4 separate regions of the Homo sapiens genome follow, and regions 1, 2 and 3 are each linked to region 4. Evidence: promoter capture Hi-C in 16 types of primary human blood cells and fetal thymus (Javierre and others, 2016). All regions are on one chromosome and are shown on one strand. Each heading gives the region's core, a stretch centred on a gene start or on the middle of the fragment in contact. The rest is flanking DNA. Distances are from core to core; before and after follow the strand shown.

Region 1 (7,320 bases), core at 928-3,427, 510 kb before region 4:
CCACAGTGAAAGAGACCTGGTCCCTGCCTTGAGGAAACCCAACTGCTGGTAGAGAGCTCAGAGTAATGATTAGGATGCAATATGAGGGATGCAGTAATTGGGGTAAGAACAAAGTAGGAACACATGAGGTCAGAAATAATAAAGTCTGTGTTTTATAGCAGCTTTCCTAAGAATCTTATAAGAGTCTTCAATAGCTTTACAATATCTCTAGCTAAATAGAAGAATAGTAGTATATTTTAGAGATTAGAAGACTTTGATACTAATATTAAAATTACCTTCAAAAATCAATAGGACTCAGAAAAATTATTACCTTCTATTTATATACTGTTTAATACACATTTTCCATTTTCATCTATTTCCACTTGTCCTAGTCAACAAACTTGTAGAATTACAAACATCTTTCTTTTTGCAATAGATATTGTTCACCTTTTCCCCCCTACAGATATAAGATCACATCTAAACCAAAAGAAATTAAAGAGAAGCTTCCTTACTTACATTAATCCTACCAGATTTTGTTTTTGGGTTTGTCTTTTTGGCTAAGTGATTTCATGGAAAGATCACAAGCTAACGGACCTGAGTATGCATTCTAACTCTGCCATCTTGGTGTCTGAACTTCAGTTTGCTCCTTGACCAAAATGGAAGCATTACCTGTTATAGGCTTCCTGTGACCTTTAATGATGACATACATGATTGAGTGCCCATTATACAACACTGAACTTGATAAACATTAAATTTTTTTCTGCCTTTTTGCTTTTTTTTTTTTTTTTTTTGAGACAGAGACTTACTCTGTCACCCAGGCTGGAGTGCAGTGGCACAATTTCAGCTCACTGCAACCTCTGCCTCCTGGGTTCAGGCAATTCTTGTGCTTCAGCCTCCCAAGTAGCTGGGACTACAGGTGTGTGCCACCACGCCCAGCTAATTTTTGTATTTTCAGTAGAGACAAGGTTCACCATGTTGGCCAGGCTGGTCTCAAACTCCTGACCTCAAGTGATCCACCTGCCTTGGCATCTCAAAGTTCTGGGATTACAGGTGTGAGCCACCTTGCCCAGTCCCTTTTGCTCTTTTATATCAAGCTAAAAAGAGTAAAATAGAACTACTACAGCATAACATTATTTTTTAAAATAATACTCTATCTAGTCTTTTTTTTTTTTAAATAGAGATGCAGCCTAACTGTATTGCCCAGGCTATCTATCTCTAACTCCTAGCCACAAGCAGTCCTCCCGCCTCAGCCTCACAAGTAGCTGGGATTTTAGGTGTGAATCACTGTACCCAGCTCTCAATCTAGTCTTTGTCTATAATACTCATAGGTCTGAACTCACATTCAAATCTATTGGCATCCAGTGCTAGAAGATAGATTTCTTTATTCATGACTGATTACAGAAAAGAACACAATATTAGGACATTGTGAGTCCAATGCTAGAGATTTAAAACTTTTCAAAAACCTTTTATCACATAAAACAGGCTAATATAACCACATTTCTGTCCAAGTAGATGGAATGGCCTCTTTTCAATCAAACACAGTACTTGCTGAGAAGCTACTCTTAACATTCTTACCAAATTTACCCAGAGCTTTGGTAACCTGACGATTAATACATAGCAGGCCTCCTCCCTTTTTATAATAATAGACAGCCTGTGCCATGACATCGTAACAAGCCCTAATTTATTTTAATATTTATCCTATATATTCTGAATGTTTATAAATCCTGTGCACAATTAGGAACTTGGTAAATCATTCTCATCAAAGCAGAAACACATTTATTATCAGTTGCATACTCAGTACACAATATGTGTGAAGCTAGCCATTCATTCCTCTTCAGTACCACACCTCAGACCATAGAGTTAAGTGATTCAATCAAATGAGTAATTCATTCTCTTCAAATAGTGAGTCAGATACAAATTGACATTTAAATTCAGGTCTCCTGTTGCTCAAGATTTCTTAGATCAAGGGTCAGTAGCCTTTTTCAAACAGTTTGCCAAGTGTATATTTATTCATTCACTCCAAAGAGGGAGTCTTTTAGCCTGAAGAATAGTCGGGAATCATTGCAGTCCAAGATTGAAGAAAAGAAACTTCTGATTTGGGAGGCACTGAGGTGACAGTTGGGGAATAATATTCAGAGCTTTCTCTCCCCCTTCACTTCTCCATTCTCCTAATATTTACTAAGGGAAATCTTACTATCTTCAAGGTTTCCCCCAACTCCCAATAAGCAAATACCTCTGAGAAATTACCACACCTAAAATTCTTATCTGCTGATTTAATGGACACAATCTGGAGAAGACAAGAAGAGATGCTCATAGGAAAGATTGAAAAGTATTGAAAAACAAAAACAAAAACCGTAGCCTCTCTTATTTTATTGGCAGAAGGCCTTAGTGTTCATGCATCTCTTTACTACCCGAAGCACAGTACTTACTGAAATCATCTTGTGGGTCCCTAATCTAACAGCAACATATTTCATGTCAAAGTCTGTTCAGTTACCTAGAAGTTGCCATATTTTTCTTAAAACACCCAACTAAAATAACATAATCTTTTAATATTTTCTAGTTTCTACTTTCCTAACTTTTATCAGGTAGATAGTAATTTGGAGCACTAAGAATGTGATACTGATATTCATTGTCATAAATCTGTTCTTCAAAACCATGGGAAACATGTACATGCATGTACACATGCACACACTGATATGGTTTGGCCCTATGTCCCTGCCCAAATCTGATCTCTATTTATAATCCCCACATGTTGACGGAGGGACCTGTAATCCCCACGTGTCCAGGGAGGGAGGTGATTGGATCATGGGGGTGGTTTCCCCCATGCTGTTCTCATGAGTGAGTGAGTTCTCACAAGATCTTATGTTTTTGTAAGTGTTTGGAACTTCCTCCTTTGTTTGTCTCTCCCTGCTGCCTTGTAAAGAAGGTCCATTTTTCCCCTTCCACCATGATTGTAAGTTTCCTGAGGCCTCCCCAACTATATGGAACTGTGAGTCAATTAAACCCCCTTTGCTTATAAATTACCCAGTCTCGGGTAGTATCTTTATAGCAGTGTGAAAACGAAATAACACACACCTTCCTCTTTTCCCTGACATTATTATTGTACCAATTCAATTGGCAATTCAAGTTAAAATGTGATAAAGATGAAAAGCAAAGAAACTTAGGACTTAGGTCCATCACTTCAAGGCATACTAAGAATATGCATCCAAGCACTTTTTTGCTTTGCTTAACAATCCCAGGGTCTTTTCTATTCTCAGAAAACTTTTACATATCAAAAACCTGGATAGTTTGTTCCATATATGTAAAAGTTCTTTCTTTTCTTTTTCTTTTTCTTTCTTTCTTTCTTTTTTTTTTTTTTTTTTTTTGAGACAGGGTCTTGCTCTGTTGCCCAGGCTGGAGTATAGTGGCATGATCACAGCTCACTGCAGCCTCAACCCCCGGGCTCAAGTAATTCCCCTGCCTCAGCCTCTCGAGTAGCTAGGACTACAGGCTTCCCTCACGATGCCCAGCTAATTTTTTTATTTTTTGTAGAAACAGCAGTCTCCCTATGTTGCCCAGGCTGGTCTCAAACTCCTGGGCTCAAGAACCTCCAGCCTTGGCTTCCCAAAGTAATGGGATTACAGGTGAGCCACCTCACCTGGTCATATTTGTTAAAATTCTTAATATTAGCCTGGCACAGTGGCAGGTGCCTATAATCTCAGCTACTCAGGAGGCTGAGCCAGGTGGATCACTTGAGCCAAGGAGTTTGGGGCCAGCCTGGGCAACATAGCAAGGCTCCATCTTAAAAACAATTCTTAATATTGTTGGGTTAAGATGTAAGAACACATTCTGGAACAAATTAAATAGTAAATTAATGTGTACGTATATTCCACATTTTAGCTATGTTAAGCTTTTTAAAAAGTTTTTTCCCCTGGCTTTAAGTCTCCATTGCTTTTCCATTACCCTTAGGATAAAGTTTCCAATCCTTATGATGACCTCTGTTCTGGTCTCTGCCTGCCTCTTCTCTGACAACCCTCCCCACCCCCTGGTATCACCACTCTAGCTATAGTGACCTTCTGCTAGGTCCTTGAATAAGCAGTGTTCTTTTCTTCTCGGAGCCTTTAGATAAGTTGTTCCCTCTATCTGGGTAATTCTTCTCCGCAGACTACTCTTATGTCTACCTATGCTTTAAGCCTAAATCTGAACTTCTTTGGACGAGCTTTCTCTACTTTCCAACCCCCAACCATTAGGCTAAGTTAGCTAAACTGGTTATATGTTCCCATAGCACTCTGCCCTTCTTTTTCATGGCATTTGTAAGTCTTTCATATTTGTAAATCTTTGTTTAATGTCTGTTACCTCCAATTGTAAGCTCTGTAAGAGTAGATGCTGTGCCTATTTTGCTTACTCTTGTATTATCACTTCCCTAGCAGAACACCAGATACAAGGAATGCTCAATAAATGTTCATTAAGTCAAGGAATTAAAAAACAAAAACCAAATTAATAGAAATTTGGGAGCTGGGCACAATGGCTCACACCTGTAATCTCAGCACTTTGGGAGGCCAAGGTGGAAGATTGCTTCAGCCCAGGAATTCGAGACCAGCCTGGGCAACATAGTGAGACCCCATCTCTAAAACAAAAAAAAAATTGGACCACGTATTCTTTAGAAGTAATCCTAAAGCAGTAAGAAAATAATTTTATTGGGCCTTCAACTAATCTCGGTAATTGAAATTGCTATTACATTTAACAAGATTAAAGTTGTAATTAAATGAAATATTTAAGCAATGAGTAAAATGCACAGTTATAAGATGAAGGATAACTCATCAGTTATCTCACAACAGCATCTCAGACTTTGATGTAGAAAAAGTCTTCAACGTCCAAATTATTTTTATTTAACTTTATGTTTTTAAATTTGAGATTAGGTGCAGTTAATTCTTTCATTATGTGGCAGGAGAGGGTGCTAGGGAAGGATGGCAAAAGAGAAGAGAGGCTATCAGCTAATTAGAATGTAATACAAAAAGTTACCTTTAAAATTTCGGAAAGAAAATTGGATCAGGGTGTAGAATGGAAAGCTCAGTGGTCTCTATTTTTCACCAGAGAAGTGTTTATAAATTCTAGCATTATTATTGTTAATTTTTTTGCCTGTAATGGGATAGGGCTAAGTAAACTGAATGTAGGATTTTAAGGAAAGGGCTATATCCAATTTCAAAGTAAATGTGATAATTATGTTTCTGGAGGCAGGTTCTGAATTCAATTCAATTAAATAAGGCATGTAACATATGTAAGCAGCCTGGCACTTAGTAGACACTCAACGAATGCTCTTACTTTATATAAAGGGTGAATAAGAACTGCATACACACTCTAATTAATGTAGGTTAAATGCACCTTTAAAAACAAATACAAACTGCTGTAGAGGTACACAGCATACTGCCTCAAAACTATATGACCAGTTTTATCATATGACCCTTCCTTCCTTCCTTCCTTCTTCTCTTTCTTTCTTTCTCTGTCTTTTCTTTCTTGCCCTGCCCTGCCCTCTCCTCCCCTCCCCTTCCCTCCCTTCCCCTTCCCTCTTCCCTCCCCTCCCCTCTCTTTTCTTTTCTTTACTTTTTTTCACTTTTCTTCCTCTCCTCTCTCCTCTCCTCTCCTTTCCTTTCTTTTTGACAGGGTCTCACTCTGTTGCCCAGGCAGGAGTGCAGTGGTGCAATCACGGCTCACTACAGCCTCAACCTCCTGGGCTCAAGTGATTCTCCCACCTCAAGCTCCCAAGTAGCTGGACTACAGGCATGTACCAGCATGCCCAGCTAAATTTTCTTTATTTTTGAGGTCTCACTGTGTCTGCCAGGCTGGTCATGAACTCCTGACCTCAAGTGATAAGTGATCCTCCCACCTCAGCCTCCCAGTGTGCTGGGGTTACAGGTGTGAGCCACCATGCCTGGCCAGTATAAATTCTTTAATCTATTTGTGAAGGATATCTCAGTTCATTAGCTGTTTTGTATTTGAATGAAATGAGAGCCAAGATCTGGTTCAAAGCTAAAGAGGATAAGGAGGCTTCTACGGAGCAAAACCAGCTGTTTATGCTTTCCCCTGCCCTCTTTCAAACTAACACCTCTGGAATGGCTTTGACTTGCATGCTGTTTCACTCTCGTGCTCTCTCAACCATTGGCTATAATGTTCCCATTATGGTCCTCCAAGTCATCCATTTCTTTGTCCAAGAGGACATGAATAGTTTTAATTTTTGTTGTTGTTGTTGTTGTTGTTTTGTTGTTGTTTTGAGACAGGGTCTCTCACTATCACCCAGGCTGTAGCGTAGTGGCATAATCACAGCTCACTGCAGCCTCAACCTGCCAGGCTCAAGCCATTCTCCCACCTCAACCTCCTGAGTACCTGGGGCTACAGGCACATGTCACCACGCCTGGCTAATTTTTGTATTTTTAGTAGAGATGGAGTTTCTTCATGTTTCTCAGGCTGGTTTTGAACTCCTGGGCTCAAGCAATCCACCTGCCTTAACCTCCCAAAGTGCTGGGATTACAGGCATGAGTCAATGCACCCCACCAGTTTTAGTTCTTTAACAATGTTCCTGTGGGTAAGACCAGGACTAGAGGGCATGCCAAATAACTGGAATGCCAACATTTCCAAAATACAGGCAGCAGTGGCCTAGATGTTACAGAAGGTTACCAGCTGTAGAAAGAAGCTGAAATTAATTTTCTCTAAGTATTTGAGGAACAGTCAAATTTCAGCATGAAAGCACTGTAGGAATGTTAGGTAGAATTGAGTTTAGTATCTATAGAGCATGTTCAATTGATGATGATCAATTCCCATCTTTCTCTGCTTTTTCAAGACAAATCTATATCGAAACTAAAATTTTACTTCTGGGAATCTTAATCTTGGTGTATCCTGCTACTATGGAGAAGTTTGATGAGCTGTGGATCCTCTAGAATTTTAGTATTTAGTAATTTATTCAGTCTTTCAGTCTTTTCATAAATAGAATTTTCATTGTATCAGGTCATATGCTAGTCATTAGGGTGAAAATGGTGAACAAACAGTCCTGCTCTCAGAGCTTAAGTTTAAAAGACAGTTAAGTAAAAGGGAAGTTATATTATAGAGTGACAAATGCCGTGGTAGAGGTCTTTGGAACCATTCCACTTGAGATCGAGTACAGGCATGCAATCAGATAATCCACGTAAGTGTCCCAGTCAACTGTAAAGTCCTTCAGAATGAGATTTTGCATAGTTTACTTGTTCACATTCTATTTCCCAGCAGGAAAAGGAATACATACAGCTCATCTACCAGAAAAGTGATGGAAAACCATGGCTAAAAGTATACTAAATTATGCCTGAAAGATACAAAACTATAGATGTAAAGTGC
Region 2 (6,898 bases), core at 2,615-5,114, 570 kb before region 4:
AACATTTCTGCTTAGTAGCTAAAGGTTGTTAGAAACACTGAAGTATACATGTTGATGATACTAATTATCTACATATGCTTTAGAAATACTTTGGAAATTTTACTCCACTATGTTAAAATTTCACTCCAGCAATGTTCTAGTTCAACACTGGGTAAGCTTTCAAATAGATCTGCCTCATACTATGTTTTATGTTTAACTTTAGAGTGCTGGAATGATACTTCAAAGTATATTTTAGAAACTGCCCACCCACACTTACCAGAACTTCACATACAGAAATATATATGTGAAGAGAGTGTTAGTGTTTGAGGTTGAACCAAATGCAAAACTTACTAGGTTTTTAGACTAGAATAACTTAGTTAGTGAAGATCTCATTAAGGTAGGGACCACCCACCACCACCAATTTAGAGAGTATTTCACAGAACCAGAGCTGGAAGCAATCTCAAGAAGTTTTCTAGTCCAATCCCCTATTTAGTAGGACTGCACTTAAATAATCCAAGAAAGATGGCTGTCAATCTGACTGTTAAGCTCTCCAAAATGGAGAATCCACAACATCCCACGGTCAGCCCCCTATAGATTTCAACTTAAAATTTAAGATTTTAGTTTTGACTTCAGGAAAGATACAGGTATGTTCTTTTCAAATAATCCTTCACATGTCTGAATACTTACTATGAAAACTATTTAGACTTGTTTGTTCTTTTCCAGGCTGAACAGCCTAGGACATGACAAAGTTAGCTGTTCCTTTCACACACCCAACCTTATACATCATATGTCACAGGCTAAGTATATTTTAAAACAAAACAAACTATTGCTATTTATAATTATCTATTCTAATATCTTGCACATAGAAAGTATCAACCAAAAAGCGATTACCTGTAAAAACTATTTCGCATTGACTATTTTTGGCTAAGTGACACCTTAACTGTCCAAGTTCTACAATCTCTTAAAATGCCTGACTTATAAAGAACTTACAGAAATACTATGAAGCAGTTATACACAATTACCCAAGTATATAGATACCTAGAAATAACCAAGAAATATAAAATGTTCTTTGAAATTGTCATTTACTGTTTAACACAGTGCCTAAAACAATGACCGATGAGTAGTCAAATATTTATTTGAATACATGAACTGAAAAAAAGTTAATACTTTTGACTTTCTCCTTATTTTATGCATTATACATTTAAACTGCTAATATCTTAACATACTAATAAAAGATCATTTTCACATATATAAATAGAATGAAGGTTAATGTTATCTCTTCAAATTAGTAAAATATATCCCTGTTAAATGAAACTCTCATTCCTTTCATTCAAACTACCACAATCCTGATGAATGCAAGCACAATAAAAATAATGAACTTGGTTTGGAGAATGCCAATATCTATAAAGCAGGTAACATAATCATATCTAAGAATACACAAACCATCAAAAGTAGTAGTAGTTTCAAAACTGAGGAGTTATTTATTTTTTTCCACTTTGATAATTTTTGTCAAATGGCAACTACTCAAGTGAAAACACTGCTATATTATATTTGTTTATACAGACTGTACCTCAGTTTAAATTGAAGGGATGATAAATGCAAAGATTTCACATACTTCGAATATAATTTTTACCAATAGTTCACACAGTTAAGTAACTACAAAAACTGGGAGTCAGTTTCCTCCAAATGTTATGCTTCCTGATTTAGACAAGACAAAAATTCTCTATTTCTGAAATCTAACCTTAAACTGTTCTTCCAATTTCTCTCGAAGAGGGCTCAACTTTTCCAAGCTCTTACTCAGGTACACATGACCGTGGAATTTAATAAAGGCCTTGATGAAGTCAGAAACACCCCACTTGGTTTTCACCTCATCTCGGCTGAAATGAAAGAAAAAAATTCCATGAATCATAAGCAGCAAATTGGCTACAACTGTTTAAGGAGGCACTGGCTTGCTAAATACTTGATACACAAAAGAGCTGTATTTGACTGATTTTTCAACTGCAACACACTCAAGATGAGTCAGTATTAACAGCCTGTGTACTCTTTTACTGGGACTGAATCAGATATTGATTGGATGAAATTCAGTGACTATACACAAATTATGAAAAATCTATATGTTTAGAAATAAGAGAAGCATAGGCCGTTATTTTCTGTAAACCAAATTATGAGGAATTAAGGCTCCAGGTTACAAAGTCCTCTTGGAAAGAGAAAAAAAAAACCAAACAACCCTACCTTTCCAGTGCTTTAGAAAGTGCTTTTTGCAGATTAGTGGAGGCAGCTGGGAAAGGGAACTTCACAGCAATGCTTCTGCAGTAGTAGAAAATTGTGGTCAGATGGTCTCCTTTGGAAGAAGCTAAGATAGCCAACTGATTATAAGGCTGACCTACAGGAGAAAGTTAAGATTCTGGAGTAACCCCAAGAGTGACAAAGTCTTGCTATAAGAATACAAATGATCAGTGTTTAAATACTCAAACAATGGGGAGTATTTTTATAAGGTAAATATGACTGCCTCATTGCAAACCAGCGTAAGGTCCAACAGCACACTTCAGCGACAGTACACACTATCATATACAGGTTAAACAGTCAATATTAGGGTAGAGAGCGGCTTCAGCAAGGGCTAGATTATAAATAATTTCAGTTTTGTAGGCCAAAGGGTCTCTATCACAACCACTCAACTCTGCCACTGTAGTGTGAAAGCAGCCATAAACAAATATGAAACAAGTAGTGTGGTCAGACTATCATCCCTGCTTTAGACTCTTTCTAGAATCTAAAGGAATTTCAACGTCTTAGTAAGAATGATTTAAATAATTAAATATCTGCTGTAATTTCTGTAACTCAAGAACTACTGCTAATGCCTAGTTTGGGGCCATTAAAAGATTATCTTTTAGGTAATAGATTGTTTTTCTGGGGGGAGGGGAATGGTGGTATCTAAAGAAATAATTATTCTATAAGCAATTAAGGAAGCCAGAGTTGTAGAAACAATATCAGATTACATTAAGAGATTCTATCTATATTGCTTTACTGACAATAATAAATAATAAAATAAAATAAATAATAAAAGTCATCTTACTTGTAAAAAAAATTCATTTTAGTTTACATGGAATGTACAGTTAAATGGAAAAACATGACAATAACAAAACTCATTTATTGCTTTCATAAAACTTCAAAGGTGAGCCCTGAGTTATCTGCCACATTGTTATAAAGAACAAAGTGTCACGGTCAATCTCAGGTTGACAGGTCCACTCACCATTGGAGGGGACAAGCTGAGCTGCATGCCTATAGTAGGACTCTGCCTGGCTGGTCTGGTTTCTGTATCGAGCTAAGAAGAAGAAAATTAGTTTTAAAAAACCCAAAAAACAAACAGTAGGGTAGTATTTCCAAAACAGCTATAGTTTTAAGTTCTAAAGATAATAAAGACATTAAAGTTAATTTAAAATTAAAGACAAAATACTTTAAAACAAATTAACTATAGGATTATGTGTGAAGTGTCCATCAGCCTTCCTTATTTGGGACATTCAGCATGTAACCAATTTTAAAGCTTACCTAGACCCCATTTTCAGGTCCTCCAGTGTCATGCATCACCAGCTCCCACTATGGACTATGCTGGTGACCTGGAGCCGGCCCACAAGAAGGGGTGAGTTATATGGCACTTAAAAACAAAACAAAACAAAATACACTATACAATATGATCTGAAAATTATGTATTTTTCAATATTTTATAAAGTGATTTTGAAAAATGTCTCATTCCTATTGCAATATTAAATATGTGTGTGCAAAGATTATATTTAAAGCAAAACAACCTAAACACAGTATCAATGAATCTCCCTGCCAAACTCACTGCTTACTCTGATGTGACCTCCTCATGGAACCGCTGACTTACAATATTAAGAAATCTAAAATTTCAAACTTAAAAGCAGTAATGTTCTCCATTCTTTGTTATTTGAGGACAAGCAAAACATAATCCTATAGTTAATTTGTTTTACAACCTTTCTAGGTCACCTTAAAGGAATGAACAAGAATAAATAAGTTATATAATATTCCCAGATAAAATGCAAATAATAGAAATACAAATTAAACTTTAAAAAGGAAGCAAAATTAAAAATCAACTTTTAGTCCATTGGTAAGAAAGAAAGAAGGCAATTTCGCTTCAGGAGTAATTTATAAACCTCATTTATTCCAGAAGAGTACATTTAATTTAGAAATTATGGCACCACTTTGAAAAATTAAGCTTTGATTATGTTTTTGCTGTTTATTATTTGCCTATATAAATTACATAAAGTTGGAATAAAATTTAAATCTTAATATGAAAGTTACTTTCTTCACGATGCTCTGCCAATCCCAAAAATATTGAGAAATTTTAAGTTCCTTAGAATACATTTTATAGTTTCTTCTTATGACAATCTAAATTGTGTGTGTATGCTCCGCTTAAAGGAAAACAGTTTCTTTCTATGACTATTCCAAAGAAAAGGAGGAACATATTATCAATTCCTTCACAGCAAAGGCTCACCAATGTCTCCAAGGTGGACGAGGCAGTGCTGGCAGATATAGGAACAGGAGCTAGACTGTGGCTTCACTATGGCGCTGGTATGCGTCTGTTTATTGCTGATAATTCCCAATTGGGAAGACTTCACACGGCATGGTAAATCTACATTAAATACTGTACACAGTTCTTGTAATAACTAAAAGAAAAACAAACAAAATTTAGTAGTAAGTCACAAGTGCTCTAAAAGTAAAGTTTATAAACTGTAAGATGTGTACCTAGTACCACATACTGCTGAAATCTGAACAAAAACTGCATGAAAATTATATGGTAATCTTTCGGGCCTGGCACAGGGGCTCACGCCTATAATCCCAGCACTTTAGGAGGCCAAGGCGGGCGGATCACTTGAGCTCAGGAGTTTGAGACCAGCCTGGCCAACATGATGAAACCCCGTCTCTACTAAAAATACAAAAAAAAAATCAGCCGGGAGTGGTGGTGAGCACCTGTAGTCTCAGCTACAAGGGAGGCTGAGGCACAAGAATCGCTTGAACCCAGGAGGCGGAGGTTGCAGTGAGCCGAGATCACGCCACTGCACTCCAGCCTGGGTGAGAGAGCAAGACTGTCTCCAAAAAAAAAAATATATATATATATATATATTATACGTTAATCTTTCACAGGATAACTAGTATCATTCATTATAAATCATACCTTTTGAATTCTCAAGTATTACAGCAATCTAGGATGTGCATACAGCAGCATTTTAAAAAAAGATTATTTAACTGGATAGGATTTTCAGACACGATTTTCAGACACATTAAGCAAGCAAAGAAAGCTACTACTCTCAGAAACCCAAAAATTATTAAATATTGGTTACAAATTTGACTTAAATGTAAGCCAAGGTATTTGTCAGACTTTAGGTATTTCTTGCAATTTATTTTCTTAAGCTGTATGCCAATTCACATGTCTTTGCATATACAACGAATCTCACCGTAGTGTACACCTTTACTGTATCACCCATTCCTACCTCCTCTCTTCTCTGTTCTTAAAGTATGAGGGGCTCTTCTTCCTAGTCAGAGCTAACTCTTCTGCCTATGTGTGCCTATTGCTACATTCTTTTCTGGTTCCTGTCTGTCTCCCACCTCTCCATTCTTTCATCTACTGTCAACTTTTCATGCTTCTTTCCTATGGCCTACACACCACGTCTCCCACAGAAAAAAACAAGAACAAAAAACAAAACAGAGCTAAAACACTCTCCTCTTGACTTTATAGCAACCTTTTAATGTCTCTCCTTCTTCTCAACCAAATGCCTTCAAAGGAGTCCACACTTTTCATATCTGCTTTCTCAATTTCTATTTACTCCTTAATCCATTATCATCTGGCTTCCACACAACCCCTCTCCCTCCTCTCACCCAACCATCCATTACCACTCTACTGAAACTACTATCAGACAATTGGTTACCTAATAGCCAAATACAACGGATATTTTTCAGACATCATCTTATTGGACCTCTTTGCTGCACTTAAAACATCTGATCTTATGGTTGATTACTGAGCTGTTCTAGTTCTCTGTCATCTCTCCAATCACTCCTTTTCAGTCTCCTTCATAGAAAGGCTTTTCTCCTCTCACTTTGCTTGCCAAGGGCTTATTTCTTGCCCCGCACACAGTTCTTCACACTGTGAAGAATATTTACTTCACAGTTATTCAAATATTTACTTACAAATATCGTCATTCAAATATTATTATATTCATCCAAGTATGTGCTAGTATATCAGACACCCAGTAAACAAGAAAGATACAAAGACAAGTAAGAAAATATGTTTCCTTCATGAGCTTGTAGCTAAATGGGCAAGTCAGGTACAAAAAGAGAAGTAGAGGGGAGAGAGGGAGGGAGAGGGAAAAGGGAAAGGAGAGAAGGACAGACAACATGACACACAATATAACCAACAGAATATTCTACATTTATAACGTAACTTATTTCCCTAGGTTATCTGATAAATTTGTCTCACTTTATCCTTGTGATAAACTAGTAGCAACACAGTATACATAGATATAAAGCTCAATTTTTTTCAGATGAGGATGTGAAGGCAGAAATAATCAAGCGACTGGACTAAGGTTATAGAATTAGAAATATTTTGATTCTATCACCACTCTTTCTAGCATGTACAGAATTCAAAATACAAAATAAGACACCCTAAGGGCTCAACTCAGAAGGATCTGAATCATGCCACCTTTTTCCTAAGATAAAAATCACCTCCATAACTAAATATAAATTCTGCGCACCCTTTCTCACTGGGCATGGAAATTATTTACTCCATCTTTACTTGTACATTTGTAATGGGCAAGAAATTCACTAACATAAAATTGGGTAAACAAGGCCAGGCATGGTAGCTCATGCCTGTAATCCCAACACTTTGGGAGGTCAAGGCGGAAGGATCACT
Region 3 (7,505 bases), core at 2,959-5,458, 640 kb before region 4:
CCAAGAAACTAATAAAAGTGGTTTCTGATGGGCAGGAAGAGTTTGACACTGAGAGGAGGAAAATTTTTTGTATTTGTTAATTTTTGAACCATGTGAATATATTCTTTTTCCAAAAAAATTAAGGAACTAAAGTAAAACAATAAATATTATGATAAAAATGTGTGTCCATGTAGTGCCTCAAATGATCTCGCAAGCTCTTGATGGTATATATCCCTGCATGGGGAACCACAGCTCTGATGCGGTCAGTGGGATGATGGCCCTGGTGTGTGCTGTCAACCTCTCAAGTAGGTGAAAGTCCTGGACAAGCTAAGCCCAACCCTAGTGCTGAGAAGGAAGTGAAGGAACCCATCATTCTGGGAGGCTCTTCTGTCAGATGATCTGCTGATGAAGGCCATGTTGCTGACTGTCCTGAAACCCAGAAAAGAGTCTAAGCCCCAGAGTGAAGAGCCTGTGTCTCTTGGTGGAGAATGTGCAAGCCATGTCTGCGTTGGTAGTTGAACTGTGACCAGATGAAAAAAAAAAGACTGAAATAAAGACTTTCTAGACAATGTCTTCTAATCTGAGCCAAGAGTTCTGGGGAAATGGATGGGAACACTGGTCAGTTCAGAACGAGAGCCCTGGATGACAGATAATAGTTGCTATGAACAGAAGACAATCTTTGAGAGCTTGTTTTGAATTGGGGAATGGTGCCAGTTTCCTGCTCTGGCCAATAGAGAGATTACCCATGTCTCTGGCTAGGGCAGGTTGTTGAGTCAAGAACCATCTGACACAAGAGTTGGGTGCACTTCTGTTAATGCAGCCTAAGATTGCATTAGCTGTTTTGGCAACCACATGATTTTGTTGACTCATACTGAGCTTGCAGTCAATCCAAATGGCTAGGCCTTCTTCTGATGGACTGCTTTTAAGAATTGTCAAGAATTGTCATCTTCCGATGTTTGGGCAGTTGGGTTTTTAAACTTAGGAGCCGATCTTTACATTTGTCTTTATCAAACTCCATTTGGAGCTTTTGTGAATCTATATGAGTCAAGAAATATTTTAATTCTGATGTACATGTTGATACTCTCTCTCCAAACTTTGAGCTATTTGTGAATCTGATTCAAGGTGTTTATAGAAAGGTTAAAAGCACAAGGTGACATTAATATGTTAAGAAGATTCAGTGAACATAATATTTAGCCAAGTAAATTGTCTAAGGAATATCTTGGCCAAATATCTTACTGATATTGGTAGATGGCACCTTCCCAATTCACCTACCAGGAAAATCCTCTCAAAAAAAGAAAAAGAGGGCAGGGTACGGTGGCTCACACCTGTAATCCCAGCATTTTGGGAGGCTGAGGTGGGCGTTTCACCTGAGGTCAGGAGTTTGAGACCAGCCTGGCCAACATGGAGAAGCCCTGTCTCTACTAAAAATACAAAAAATTAGCCAGGCGTGGTGGTGCTCGCCTGTAATCCCAGCTACTTGGGAGGCTGAGGCAGGAGAATTGCTTGAACCCGGGAGGTGGAGGTTGCAGTGAGCAGAGATAGTGCCACTGCATTCCAGCCTGGGTGACACAGCGAGACTCCATCTCAAAAGAAAGAAAGAAAGAAAGAAGGAAAGAAAGAAAGAAAGAGAGAGAAAGAAGGAAGGAAGGAAGAAAAGAGAAAGAAAGAAAAGAGAAAGAAAGAAAGAAAGAAAGAAAGAAAGAAAGAAAGAAAGAAAGAAAGAAAGAAAGAAGGAAAGAAAGAAAGAAAGAAAAAGAGGTTTGGTTTTGTTTTGTTTTTAGAGACAAGGTCTCTGTCTACAGGCTGGAGTACAGAGGTGCAATCATAGTTCACTGCAGCCTCAAACTCCTGGGCTCAAGCAATCCTCCTGCCTCAAACTCCTGATTAGATAGGACTACAGGTGCTCACCTTGACACCCAGCTAATTTTTTTTTCTAGTAGAGATGGGATCTTGCTATGTTTCCCAGGGTGGTCTCAAACTCCTGACTTCAAGTAAATCCTCCCACTTCAGTCTCCTAAAGTGCTGGGATTACAGGCATGAGCCGCTGTACCTGGTCAAGAGTTTGTTTTGACCTGACTTATTTTGAGTAAACTCATGCTAGTTCCTAAATGTAATAGCTTCCTTTTGGTTTGTAAGTGCCTTTGTTTAATAATCTGTATTTTATAATTATTTCTAGGGCTCAGCCCATAAGTCTTTGATACCACTTCTAGAATTCACAGCTTTTAGAAGACTGGACTCATACTTGCCCATACATCCTGGCTTCCTGAATCTCAATGCTGATAAGATTTTAGGGATCACACTTACAAATTCTATCGATTCCTGGTTTTTAACGAGTCTACATTTGATAAAATGAATTTCTTTAAAGCAGCTAGCAACTTTCTCACCATCCTCTATCTGGGTCTTCAATTATCTGTATAGCTGGAAGCAAAATAGGAGCTGAGCAGTTTTGCTTTCACTCTGACATCTGTGAAAATGACACCATCTCCACCAAGCCATGACTCTCCCTCTCCCTGCTCTTCTTTCTCTGATACTAAAAAGACCTTTGTGCTGTCCTTAGTAATTTTTTTTTTTTTATGCAGCCTCAGCTCACTCTGGGCTTTGTCTTTCCTTATACTCTGCCTTTGATCTCTGCCAAGCATTTGGATTTCTCCTTGGTCAGAAGCCATGGCTTCCATCATCTGTGCATGTCTGGCCTCCTCAGAGCGTTCTCTGGGGAGTCTCATTGCCTCCCCACTTCCCTCATCTCCGTATTCCTGAGTAACACATGGTTATGTTTGTTTCTGAGAATCTCCTGTCTCTCTTTAGCAATTGATTATTTTAGAGTCTTGGGCCTGGGGCTTACATCTATTTTTCACTTTGTATTAGTCAAGTCTATTTTTTGGCATACAACAAAACTAATTACAGCAAACTTAAGCAAACACTGAAATTTATTGCAAGGGTCTAAGCTTGGGGCAGGAATTTGGATGGGGCTCAGGAAAGGCTGGAACCGGAGACTGAAAAGTTTCTGTGTCTCTTGTCTCTGCTCCTCGCTGGGCATCTGTTCCATTCTCTCTGAGTAGTCTGGCTTCCTCTGCTTTCCGGGGCCTCAGGGCACAGCATGATAGAACTGCAGCTCCTAGGTTTATACACCTCTCAGTCCTAAATCCTGAATCACAGGAGACATAACCTAATGAGGCCAGCTTGTCAGATGCCCACCAGGGTCCAACCAGCCAGGACTCAGGCAGTACAAATGTGGCCACAGGGCCTACCATCCTTCTATGGATTACACAGGCAGGTCCCAGAGAAGAGACAGGCATATACCCTAACAGATGTCCACTCTTCACTTGTTCATTCATTCAGTGATTCAGCAAATAGTTATTGTATGTCCAGACACGGTCGTTAGGGACACTACAGGGAAAGCAAAAGGGAATCTTTAAAAATTTTGTTTTGCAGAAAATCTAATCTTGCATGTTCTCACTTATAAGTGGTAGCTAAACATTGAGTATACATGAACACAAAGATGGGAACAATAGACACTGGGGACTCCAAAAGTGGGAAAGGAGACGGGTGGGCAAGAGTTGAAAAACCACCTATCGGGTACTATGTTCACTATTTGGGTGACAGGATCAATAGAAGTCCAGACCTCAGCATCCTGCAATATACCACGTGACAAACCTACACATGTACCTCCTGAATCTAAATTTTTTTAAAAAATTCTGTTCTGCTAAATAGGGGGTAGATTTCTAACTCTTCTGTGCCCCCTCCGCTTTTTTGTACAATGACGTGATCAGTTTCTACTCCTTCAACATCAGTAACTGTCTTGTTAGAGCATCATTTCCCCTTAGATACTCACTGGCTTGGGAAACACACACAAAAACTATCCTGAGACAGGAATCTTCCTAAAGAAAAAGACCCACGGAGTTTTGAACACATGTAAAAGAGATCCCTGGCTCTATGACTAGATTGCATTTAGTGAATGGGTACTCTAGACGAAAAATGCAGGACTGAAAAGGCCAACTGCATCCAAAAAGGGAAAGTTCCTAAGATATGCAGGACTAGAATCATGCCACATCAACCATATTTCTTTTTTACTTTTCAGATCAGCACATATTTATTAAGACTTTGATATAAGATGTTAGGTGCCAGTTCTGTGGAAAATGTAAAGAAATAGAAAGCCTGTTCCCTGCCCTCAAAGAACCTATTTATAGCTAGCTGGATAGATAAGGTAGAAAACAGATAATGTGATAGAGTGCTTGTGTTTTGGGGTTTGATCATAAAATGCTATAGGAATTCAGAGAAAAAAATTACTGAGACTAACTTACATCAGGGAAGACTTTACGTAGGATGTGAGTCTAAGCTGAGCTTTTACAGATGGACAGATGGACAGGATTTGGATCTGCAGAGAAATGTCAAAGGGCAATTTTTTTTTTTTTTTAAGATGGAGTCTCGCTCTGTAGCCCAGGCTGGAGTGCAGTGATGCAATGTCGGCTCACTGCAACTTCTGCCTGCCAGGTCCAAGAGAGTCTCCTACCTCAGCCTCCTGAGTACTATTTTTAGTACTATTTTTAGTAGAGACAGGGTTTCACCATGTTGGTCAGGCTGGTCTCCAACTCCTCACCTCGTGATCCGCCCACCTTGGCCTCTCAAAGTGCTGGGATTATAGGTGTGAGCCACTGTGCCTGGCCCAAAGGACAATTTATAGTGAGGATCCAGTGTATTTACTTGCTTCATTCAGGATTCAGATCTTTAATCTCTATGCATTCATTCATTTATTCATCAAACTTTTACTGAGTGACCACCTATGCAGGTACTAGACATTGTGTGTGTAAAGGGTACAAATATGAAAAAGAGTGCTTAATATGAGGTGTCTTTAAATGAATAGGCATTATACATTCCCTCATTTTCATCTAGGATGCTAGGACACATATATTTAGCCAAGCAAATTAAGTAATCACACTGACTTTAAAAGCACCTTCCATGGCATCGCTATTTAACAGATATGTTAAAAATCCACCATATCATGGGCACAAAAGATACAGTGGAAAAATCAGACACAGATCTTGTATTTTCGGGGCTTACAGTCTAGTTGAGAGACAGTCGTTTAAACAAGTAATTACAATCACATGTGCTTGAACACACATTAGGAGAGGTAGAGAGAAACCTCCTTGAGTGCACATGGCAGGAATAATTAATCTCACTGGTAAGTCAGGGAAGAAGACTGGAGCTGCTGAGGTGTGGCAGGTGGAATTCTAAGATGATCCCTGATGATCCTTGCCTTTGTGTAATCCCCTCCCCTTGAGTGGGAGAGACCTGTAACTTGCTTTTAATCAATAGAACATGGCAAAGGTGAAGGGATTTTTGCAGAGATGATTAACATCCCTAAGCAGTTGGCTTTAAATTAATCAAAAGGGAGAATATTCTGGGTGGGCCTGGCCTAATCAGGTGACTCCTTTAAGAGAAGGTCTAGAGGTAAGAGACTTAATGAAGCAGAGATTCTCTCTGCCTCCATTGCTGGCCTTGAAGAAGGAAGCTTTCATGAATTCTATAGCTACAGATGAATTCCACCAACAAACCAAGGGAGCTTGGCAGCAGATGCCGTCAAGTCTCCAGATGAGAAAGCAGCCTAGATAACACCTCGATCTCAGCCTTGTGAGACCCTGAGCACAGGGCCCAACTAAGCCGTGCCCAGACTCCTGACCCATGAAAACTGTGACATAGTACATGTGTGTTATTTTAAGCCATTAAGTTTGTGGTAATTTGTCATGCAGCAACGGAAAACCAACCCAACGACAGATTAGACAGGACTAACTTGCCTTCCTGGAGAAAGACGATTTCAAGCCCTGAGGCTTTCAATAGCATTGCTGAACAACAGGACCCCTGTTGACTTTTCTGTATCCTTCATGTGAGATCCAGGCCAAGTTTATATCTAATAAATGAGGTCTCCTCCCTGCCTCCTTCAGGGTTTCCTGTCTTGTACTCAATGAAACTATCTACTCAATGTTAGAGTTGACGGCAAAAAAGTGCGTTCTTTTCCCTACTAGTCTAAATGTACCTCACTTTATGCAACTAACATGATACTGACAAACTTTACAAAATTATATTTTTCCAAGTAGGATTCAGTTTTCTCATTTTTCAGTTCATTTAATTAATTAGCCAATGATCACGGAGCAGCTACTACGTGCTAAACATGGCGAAAGACTGAAGGACAGTGGAGAGTTGGCTCTATCCTTTGAGGAGCTTAAGAAAGAAGTCTCATGTACCAGAAAAAGTTAAAGAGCGATAGAACACTAAAATCTAAATGTAGGAATGAAAAAGTATTTCCTGAGTGCCCAGGAATAATGAGTTTTATTTTGATTTTACAGGCTTCTTCCTCAGAAAAAAAAAGGAGGGTCTTGGGAGTGTTCTTGGCTTCCAGCTGAATAAATACATGCAACAGTAGTTTGTAGTGTTAACCAATCATATGCAAATCTTGCTTATTTGGAATTTTGGAATAATTTTGAAAATATCGAGATGAAACTGAGTTACCCAACCAATGCCTCAACAAATTTTATTTAACAAGTAATGTTTATTGAACACCTGCTATATGCCAAGCCCTGTACTAGGTACCGAGAATCCAGTGGTGTGTGTGTCAGAACATTTTAAACCATAACTAATAGAAAACTTGATATGAATGACTTAAACAATAAACAAACTTATTATCTAACCAAACAAGAAATTCCAAGGTAGATCAGTTTCAGACTTGTAGAAAACGTTATTTTTATCTTTTAAGAGATGGAGTCTTGCTCAGTCACCTAGGCTGGAATGCAGTGGCGTGATCATCACTCACTGCAGCCTTTGAAGTCCTGAGCTCAAATGATCCTCCCACCTTAGCCTCCTGAGAAGCTGGGGCTACAGGCATGTGCCACCATGCCTGGCTAATTTTTAGTGTTTTTCTGTAGAGATGGGGTCTGGCTTCATTGCCCAGGCTGGTCTCTAACTCCTGACCTCAAGGGATCTTCCCACCTAAGTGTTGGGATTACAGATGTGAGCCATTGTGCCCAGCCAGATTTGCAGAAAACAGATAATGCAACACATCTCATCAGCATAACTAAGCATCTGAGCTCTTTGTAATTTTCCATTCTCTTTTCTTTCAGACAATGGCTTGTTCTTAGTTGTCTCCCCTCATGATTATAAGACAGCTGCCATATTCCAGACACATCTCACAATGCTGTCTAGTAGAGAAACAAGTGCTGTTTCTTCTCATGTGTTTTATTTTTTATCACTGGGGAAGAAATCTTTCCCAGAAATTCTTAGCAGACTTTCCCTCCTGAAGCGCATGGCTTCAGGAAACTGGAGGCTTGAACAGAACTGGGGTTCTACCAAAAGGAGGAAGGCGAATGGACAGTGGCTGAACAGACCGTCTACTAACAGCACCAAGTAATGATTAAATAGACTGCCCCTGCATTGAGGGACAGAAACAATGTCACAGATGACATACAGTTACAAACTGTAACAAATACATGATCAGAGAGAACCGTGCACATAGCAAGGTCATGGATCTAGAAAGG
Region 4 (7,847 bases), core at 4,209-6,708:
TTGACTACACCATGAGAGTCAAGCCAAATTTGGGGAGTGAGAAAGAGACAAGGCTTTTCTGTCAAGAAGAGGGACAGTGGCTGTGCATGCTTCACTTTTCAGGACCACTTGGAAGAGTGCGAAAAACTCTTCCACCCCTTTCTTCTCATACAGCACAGAGTAGTTTGATGGTGAAGAAAGAGAGGGATCAGGCTGAGCACAGTAGCTCACTCCTGTAATCCCAGCACTTTGGGAGGCCGAGGCGGGCAGATCACTTGAGCTCAGGAGTTGGAGACCTGCCTGGGCAATATGGTGAAACCCTGTATCTACTAAAAATACAATAATTACCCAGACATGGTGGTGCATGCCTATCGTCCCAGTTACTCGGGAGGCTGAGGCACGAGAATCGCTTGAACCAGGGAGGTGGAGGTTGCAGTGAGCCGAGATTGCGCCCCTGTACTCTAGCCTGGGTGACACAGCAAGATTCTGTCTTGGAAAAAAAAAGAGAGAGAGAGAGGAATCCCTTTCTGCTGTTGGGCTTTTATCACTCTAATCGTTGCTATTGTTATTCATCTCCCAAGAGTAAATGGGAAATCTACTTCTCACTCAGTCCATCCTCTTGTACCTGCAGGGAGACTCTCCAATGTTGCTGACTGTTTTGAATTAGCACATTTCTTTGCAGTCCCCCATATCCACCAGGATACATTCCAAGGCCCCAGTGGATGCCGGAAACCGTGCATAGTACCATACCCTACATATGCACCAATTACTTTTTTCTCCTTCACAATTTCACAGATAGAACATTTGTTCTTACCGTAGATCTTCGCAACTTCAGTAGAGAGTTTTTTCTTTTTTTTTTTATTAAGTGGAGAGTTAGTTACTTACTTAGAAATGTTTCTTTTCTTATTAGGTTTTTTTTTTGTTTTGTTTTGTTTGTTTGTTTGTTTGTTTTGAGACAGAGTCTCGTTCTGTCTCCCAGGCTGGAGTACAGTGGTGTGATCTCGGCTCACTGCAACCTCTGTCTCCTGGGTTCAAGCGATTCTCCTGCCTTAGCCTCCTGAGTAGCTGGGACTACAGGTGCCCGCCACCACGCCTGGCTAATTTTTGTATTTTTAGTAGAGACAGCGTTTTACCATATTGGCCAGGCTGGTCTTGAACTCCTGACCTTGTGATCAGCCCACCTCGGCCTCCCAAAGTGTTGGGATGACAGGTGAGAGCCACTGTGCCCAGCCCTTATTAAGTCTTTAAGTGGGAAGCTTTTCTTTTCACTTTTATTTTATTTTATTGAAATATTATAACAAATCATTGAAGAAGATAGTGTTATCATTCCATTCTGATAAAACCAATTAACTTATCCAAGCATGTGCATGCTGTACACAGAAGATCCACCGTTAAAAAGTCCCTATTTTTACTTACTTTTCTTAGATTCAGCGGATACATGTGCAGGTTTCTTATATGAGTATATTATGTAATGCTGAGGCTTGCACTTTTAATGATCCAGTCACCCAACTAGTGAGCATAGTACCAAATACATAGTTTTTCAAGTCTTGCCCCCCTCCTTCTCTCCTCCTTTTTGGAGTCCCCAGTTACTGTTGTTCCCTTCTTTGTGTTCACATGTACCCAGTGTTTAGCTCCCACTTATAAGTGAGAACATGGTTTTCTGCTTCTGTGTTAATTTGCTTAGGATAAAGCCTTCCACCTGCATCCATGTTACTGCAAAAATCTTGTGCCTTTTCACAGCTGTATAGTATTCCATGGTGTATATGTACTACATTTTCTTAATCCAATCCACTACTGTTGGGCACCTGGGTTGATTCCATATCTTTGCTATTGTGAAGTGCTCCAATGGACATACAAGTGCATGTGTCTTTTTGGTAGAATTATTTATTTTCCTTTGGATATATACCCAGGAATGGGATTGCTGGGCTGAATGGTAATTCTATTTGTAGTTCTTTGAAAAATCTCCAAACTGCTTTCCACAGTGGCTGAACTAATTTACACTCCCACCAACAGTGTGTAAACCTTCCTCTTTGCTCCACAATCTCACCAGCGTCTGTGAATTTCTGACTTTTTAGTAATAGCCATTCTGACTGGTGTGAGATGGTAATGGTATCTCATTGTGAAATTCCCTATATTTTTATATGATTCTCAGGGGGTATCATGGGTCTGAATACTGACTCATGCCCTGGGCATGACTTCCACATTGCAGAATTGAGAAGTTGACCCAGAAATGCATTTCAGGCTGAGCAGACAATTATCAGAGGAGCTGGCTAGACCACAGCTGTGGTCAGATGTGTCATAGGGACCATGGCCTTTCTGTAGACTCATGGTCAGAGGTGGAGAGGAGCTGTGAACCTTCTTGTGAAAAAAGTCAAGGTGAAAGCTGCCCCGTGGTGATGGGCGCTGGGCCTCACCTACCACATACTGTGCATCTCCTGGCCTGCTGGGCTCAGTCCCCACCCCACTGCTTGGCACTCGACTGGCAGAATCTGAGTGATGCCTTCTGCACTCCCTGCCCTGCTCTGCCACTGGCTGTGTCTGAGCCAGAGGATCAGTGCTCAGCAGCAGACTCTCCCAAAACCCATCATCTGGGCTGAACCCAGTTCATGAATCCAAATGAAAAGCCGGTGACCATCTGTCACTGGGGAGATTCTGAGGCTGTTGAATACCAGCTGTACTTTGAAGGAAGCCTTTCTGCCATGGAGAGACCAAAACCCCCTGAATGGATTAACAAAGTTGAATTCCACATCCTACTCATGACCTTCCGCACAGCAGGGCTATACAGCTGCTTCTATCTGGCTGGGGAGCTCTGGTCGGAGCCCAGTGACTCTGGATCTGGTGGTAACAGGAGGGAAGATCCAGCCGCACACAGTGCAGATATGGGAATGTCCAGGCGGAGTTCCCCATTGGTCCTGTGACCACAACCCACAGAGGGACATACCGATGTTTTGGCTCCTATAACAACCATGTGTGGTCTTTCCCCAGTGAACTGGCAAAGCTCCTGATCATAGGTGACATTGAGAACACCAGCAGACCCCACCTCTTCTGGCTCTTGGGACACCTACCTTTTAACCAGAGACGGGACTCCAGAAAGACTGTGCCCTCTGAGACCACACTGCCCAGAATCTCCTTCAGATGGGCCTAGCTTTCCTTGTCCTGGTGACTCTGGTGTGATTCCTAGTTGAAGACTGGCTCAGCAGGAAGAGGACTAGAGGGCGAGCCAACAGAGCTTCCACTTGGGATTGCGGCAGAAGGTTGAGAACACAAAGACCCCTTGAAGAATGACCAAGAAACGCAGTGGCCATGGGTGGAACTGAAAGCCGATCTTGAGCCTGGGCATTGGGAGCTCTGTGTTGGGAGAAGGGAGTCATTGTAGGAAAAAGGGACAGTGGTATTCCATTTGTCAAAGCATCCTGGAGGAGACAGGAGGTGGGAGAAACAAGCTAAATTTCTTTGGGAGGCAAAAAAAAAGAAAAAAGTTGTTTTAAAAACTCAGCTTAAGTATCCCTTCTTTGGAGAAGAAAGGTCCTTTTCTCCTACAATGTGGAATATATGTGTATATATATACACACACACACACACACACACACGCATATATATACACACATAAATAAATACAAATTATTTGTGTGTATATAAATATATATATGTATGTATTTATGTGTATTTACATAAATAAAAGCATGGTCCTTACCAAACACAATCATCTACTGACCCATCTGTATCTTTCACTAGGATTACGAGGGCAGGGATTTGGTCTTTTACCTCTATAACTGTGGCATCTACGCATTGTGTGGCATGTAACAGATTTCTAACAAGTATTTGCCTTTTGGAGGAAAAGGGAGCTGTTGCTGTTTTTAAACTTTGGCCCAGGACAGGTGGTCTTTATTATTCAGAACCTAAGAATTAAAAAACCCATAATTTATCAAAAACAAACTTTTGAAGAAACACTAGAGTAAAACATTTGTGTGTGTGTGTGTGAGTGAAATATGCAGTTAGTATTGTTATAAACAAAGTCCAGGACTCAACGAAAGGAATAAAGTAAGAATAGAATTGAAACATGATGCATGTTGTAATTATTCCCTAAACTACAGTAACATGATGTTAATTTTTTTTTTTTTTTTTTTTTTGAGACGGAGTCCCGCTCTTTAGCCTAGGCCGGATTGCAGTGGCGCAATCTCGGCTCACTGCAAGCTCCGCCTCCCAGGTTCACGCCATTCTCCTGCCTCAGCCTCCCGAGTAGCTGGGACTACAGGCGCCCGCCACTGCGCCCGGCTAATTTTTTGTATTTTTAGTAGAGACGGGGTTTCACCGTGTTAGCCAAGATGGTCTCGATCTCCTGACCTTGTGATCCGCCCGCCTCGGCCTCCCAAAGCGCTGGGATTACAGGCGTGAGCCACCGCGCCCAGCCACATGATGTTAATATTTTCCTCAAAATAAACTCAGAATTTAACATAGTGTTCTTCCAGACGAGTGTGAAGGAAGGCAGGTGTTTTCCCAATGCTGTTCTCCTTGGGAGCTGTCAGCTTCAGTGCAGTATTTCACAGCTAGACTGTGAACAAACGTTAATTCCAATTGGCTCAATATACATTCAACAGTAAAATACCAGAAGTGAGTGGTCTCTGTTGTTCTCCAAAATGTATGATCTGGAACAGACTTTTATCGTGAAAGTGTTCATAGTTTGCACACATCACTCCCAGCTGGAAGTTGTTGTCCAGTTTAACAGTTATATAATATAATCTTTTATGTGAGAATTTTGAATAGCACAACAGAGACAAGAAAACAGACTAACTTCTCCTTGGTATGACCACATCTTGGCAAAAAGTGAAAGTCCTATTTAAAATGTAAAGGAAATCCTATTTGGTGAACCCTGTAATAGGTGGGGGCTAAAAGGGAAATCTAGGTTGCTGGATTTGTCACTAGGGTTTCCTCTAGTAATAGCCAGAGGGTTCCAGTTAGTGTCACCTCCCAGTATGAAAATAAATTTTCTTTCAGGCTTTGTTTGTGGAGTGGTAGGTGGAGCATTTTTTTAGGTCCTGATGACCTGGAAGGTGACTCATAATCACCCTGAAACGTATGAGGACCCTAAGGAAACCTCCCCTGGGGGAGACAGAGGGCTGGGGTTAGAGCCATTGCGTTGGGCTCGTCTGGCACCTTCTGGTGTGTGCGGCACCTGGTGGGGGTTCGGCACGGAGCCGCACCCAACACTGACCCGGGCCCCCCCACCCCTGTCCTGAGCCCAGGCGCTTCGCCCTGTCCCACCTAGCTCTGAGCAGCGCCCCCCAGCACCCTGAATGCGTCCGCAGGACCCCGCGCTCTACCCGCAGGCCCCGCACCCCCTAGCTCTGGGCCGCGCCTCACATCCCTCCCAGAGCCGCAACACCCCACCCGGCGGGACGCCCTCGAGCAGCCGCTCGTTGCGGGCCTGAAGCGCAGAGCGCCTATTGGCCAGAGCGGCCGAGGGCGGGAAAAGTGGCCAACGGCTGCCTCGGCCCTCGGGCTGCTGAGGAGATGGCGTCGGGCTCCAAGGCCTCGGTGCCCGCGGACTCATTCCGCACCATCAGCCCGGACAGGCGAGGCGAGAAGTCCGCCTCCGCTGTCTCCGGGGACACGGCGGCCGCGACCACCCTGAAGGGCACCGCGATCCCAGTGCGGTCGGTGGTGGCCTCCCCTCGCCCGGTGAAGGGGAAAGCGGGCCGGGAGACGGCCAGGCTGCGGCTCCAGCGCCTGCCCGCGGCTCAGGCCGAGGACACGGGAGAGGCGGCGGCGGCGGCGGCGGAGGAGCCCCTGCTGCCAGTGCCTGAGGATGAAGAGGAGGCGCAGCCCCTGCCCCCAGTCTGCGTGTCCCGTATGAGGGGGATGTGGCGGGACGAGAAGGTGTCGCTGTATTGCGACGAAGTGCTGCAGGACTGTAAGGTGAGCGGATCCGGGACAGGAAGACTACGGTCGGAAGCTCGTCGGAACCTGGGGACAGGCATCTGGGGCTTCCCTCTTAGGCGGATGGGGATCCACAGGGCACAACGAAAACTTGCGTTTCAAAAAAGTAAATGGAGTCAACATGTATAGAGCGTTCACCTTGTTAGAGGTGCCCGCGTCCTGCCCTAGAGGAGTTAAGGTTCGAGTTTCCGACAAAATTCGTCAGGTAACGGGACAGCCCTGAGAGAGAATTTTCTGAGAGCTCCTAAAAAATGAAGATATATTGGCCTTATCATTGCACAGGCATGAATCTTGGTACCTTTATTTAACAGTTTATGTCCAAACATGAGTAAGATCACTTAGCCTTGACTTTTACACTAGAATGCTAGAAATTACTTTAAGGGTACTTCCCACTCAGCAGTCCACAATGCGGCATGATATATATGTGTGTGTATATATATATATAAATGTGTGTGTGTGTGTGTGTGTGTGTATATATATATATATATATATATATATATATATATATATATATATTTTTTTTTTTTTTTTTTTTTTTTTTTTTTTTTTTTGGAGACGGAGTTTCATTCTTGTTGCCCATGCCGGAATGCAGTGGGGCAATCTCGGCTCACACAACCTCCGCCTCCCGGTGCAAGCAATTCTCCTGCCTCAGCCTCCCGAGTAGCTGGGATTACAGGCATGAGCCACCACGCCTGGCTAATTTTGTATTTTTTTTTAGTACAGATGGGGTTTCTCCAGTTGGTCAGGCTGGACTCGAACTCCCGACCTCAGGTAATCTGCCCGCTTCGGCCTCCCAAAGTGTTGGGATTACAGGCATGAGCCACCGTGCCTGGTGGCATGACTTTCTTTTATAGAAAATACATATCTGATAAAACGGAATAGAGCAAATATTTCATGTTTCTAACCTATTTTTTTAAGTTGTAGCAGAAGAATTTGTGTACCTGCATATTCACTGCAGTGATATTTATAAAAAGTTGAAAATTAAGACATAAACAATAACTAGCTGTCTTATCTATGAATTATTCGAGTGAATAGATCTCTTTTAAGTTTAATTTTTTGTTGGTGATGTTTTCCACTAGATGCGGTTTCAGTTAAAATCTGTAATTTTCCAGGTCATTCATTATTTAAGGCTATATTGGTTCCATTTTAAAATAGAAATCAGTAAAAAAAAAAAAAACCACTTAGTTTAAAATCTATAATTTCATATATTTATATGTAGATCCATTTTTTCTCTTGTTAGGCAGAAGATGCTGATGAAGTTATGGGTAAATACCTATCAGAAAAATTAAAGTTGAAAGACAAATGGCTTGGAGTCTGGAAGACTAATCCCAGTGTATTCTTTGTGAAATATGAAGAAGCTTCTATCCCTTTTGTTGGTATATTGGTTGAGGTAAATAAATTTTATTTGATCTTTGTTCTTTTTGAATCAGTTCTTTTAAAGACTAAAATATGACTTTATTATTTGGAGATTGATACACAAGAGTTGACACATTTTTACTTCTGTTTTAAGTTTCCGAGAAAATTAATAGTGTAAAAAGAAGGTTAGGGGAATATTAGTGCCTGTAAACCATTATCATTAAATGGAATCTAGTAGTATCAGACAATATTTATTAGCCTAGTTTTTGCTCAACTAATGTAAAAATAACAAAAATGCATTTCTTATAAAATTAGTGATTCAGTCTTTAACAAACTTGGGCCTTCTTTTTCTGTCTTTTCCCTTTAATCTTCATTTATCTGAATTAAGAAGTTTAGTTCAGATGAGGAAAAAAAAAGAAATGGATCAGAAAACTACTGGGAAAATTTGAAATTTTTTTCCTTTGAAAAGTACCCTTTTTAGGGAGGCTGAGGCAGGAGAATGGTGTGAACCCAGGAGGCGGAGCTTGCAGTGAGCTGAGATCATGCCACTGCACTCCAGCCTGGGCAACAGAGTG

What was found. Contacts are between HindIII fragments. The CHiCAGO score rates a contact against its expected background, and 5 or more counts as called.
Region 1: a contact is called between a fragment that was not itself captured here and the fragment with the promoter of SHCBP1L in region 4, in 3 of 17 cell types (megakaryocytes, M1 macrophages and endothelial precursors). The highest score is 5.2, in megakaryocytes.
Region 2: a fragment that was not itself captured here is called in contact with the fragment with the promoter of SHCBP1L in region 4 in 1 of 17 cell types (M1 macrophages); the score reaches 5.5 in M1 macrophages.
Region 3: a fragment that was not itself captured here is called in contact with the fragment with the promoter of SHCBP1L in region 4 in 1 of 17 cell types (endothelial precursors); the score reaches 5.7 in endothelial precursors.

What each region holds. Positions count from the first base shown.
Region 1 is chr1:183,462,456-183,469,775 of GRCh38, reverse strand. SMG7-AS1 (SMG7 antisense RNA 1) reads left to right here. Exons shown (of 5, transcript NR_040063.1): 3 at 1-102. It overlaps LOC105371646 (a long non-coding RNA gene), which reads right to left. Exons shown (of 4, transcript XR_922351.2): 4 at 6,893-7,320. Among named protein-coding and RNA genes, the nearest start is that of SMG7-AS1, 5.9 kb to the left of the region's middle. The HindIII fragment of the contact is 3,386 bases long and covers 485-3,870 here.
Region 2 is chr1:183,524,356-183,531,253 of GRCh38, reverse strand. It overlaps SMG7 (SMG7 nonsense mediated mRNA decay factor), which reads right to left. Exons shown (of 23, transcript NM_001375584.1): 5 at 4,487-4,658; 6 at 3,227-3,298; 7 at 2,212-2,362; 8 at 1,721-1,856. Among named protein-coding and RNA genes, the nearest start is that of SMG7, 55 kb to the right of the region's middle. The HindIII fragment of the contact is 690 bases long and covers 3,520-4,209 here.
Region 3 is chr1:183,593,630-183,601,134 of GRCh38, reverse strand. It overlaps a transcript of NCF2 not described here. Among named protein-coding and RNA genes, the nearest start is that of NCF2, 6.9 kb to the right of the region's middle. RefSeq lists enhancers at 1,246-1,745, 7,267-7,326. The HindIII fragment of the contact is 2,564 bases long and covers 2,927-5,490 here.
Region 4 is chr1:182,950,777-182,958,623 of GRCh38, reverse strand. SHCBP1L (SHC binding and spindle associated 1 like) reads left to right here and starts at 5,458. Exons shown (of 10, transcript NM_030933.4): 1 at 5,458-5,895; 2 at 7,157-7,306. The coding sequence starts at 5,491. It also overlaps the pseudogene LOC100271717. RefSeq lists enhancers at 43-554, 555-1,065. The HindIII fragment of the contact is 6,039 bases long and covers 1,238-7,276 here.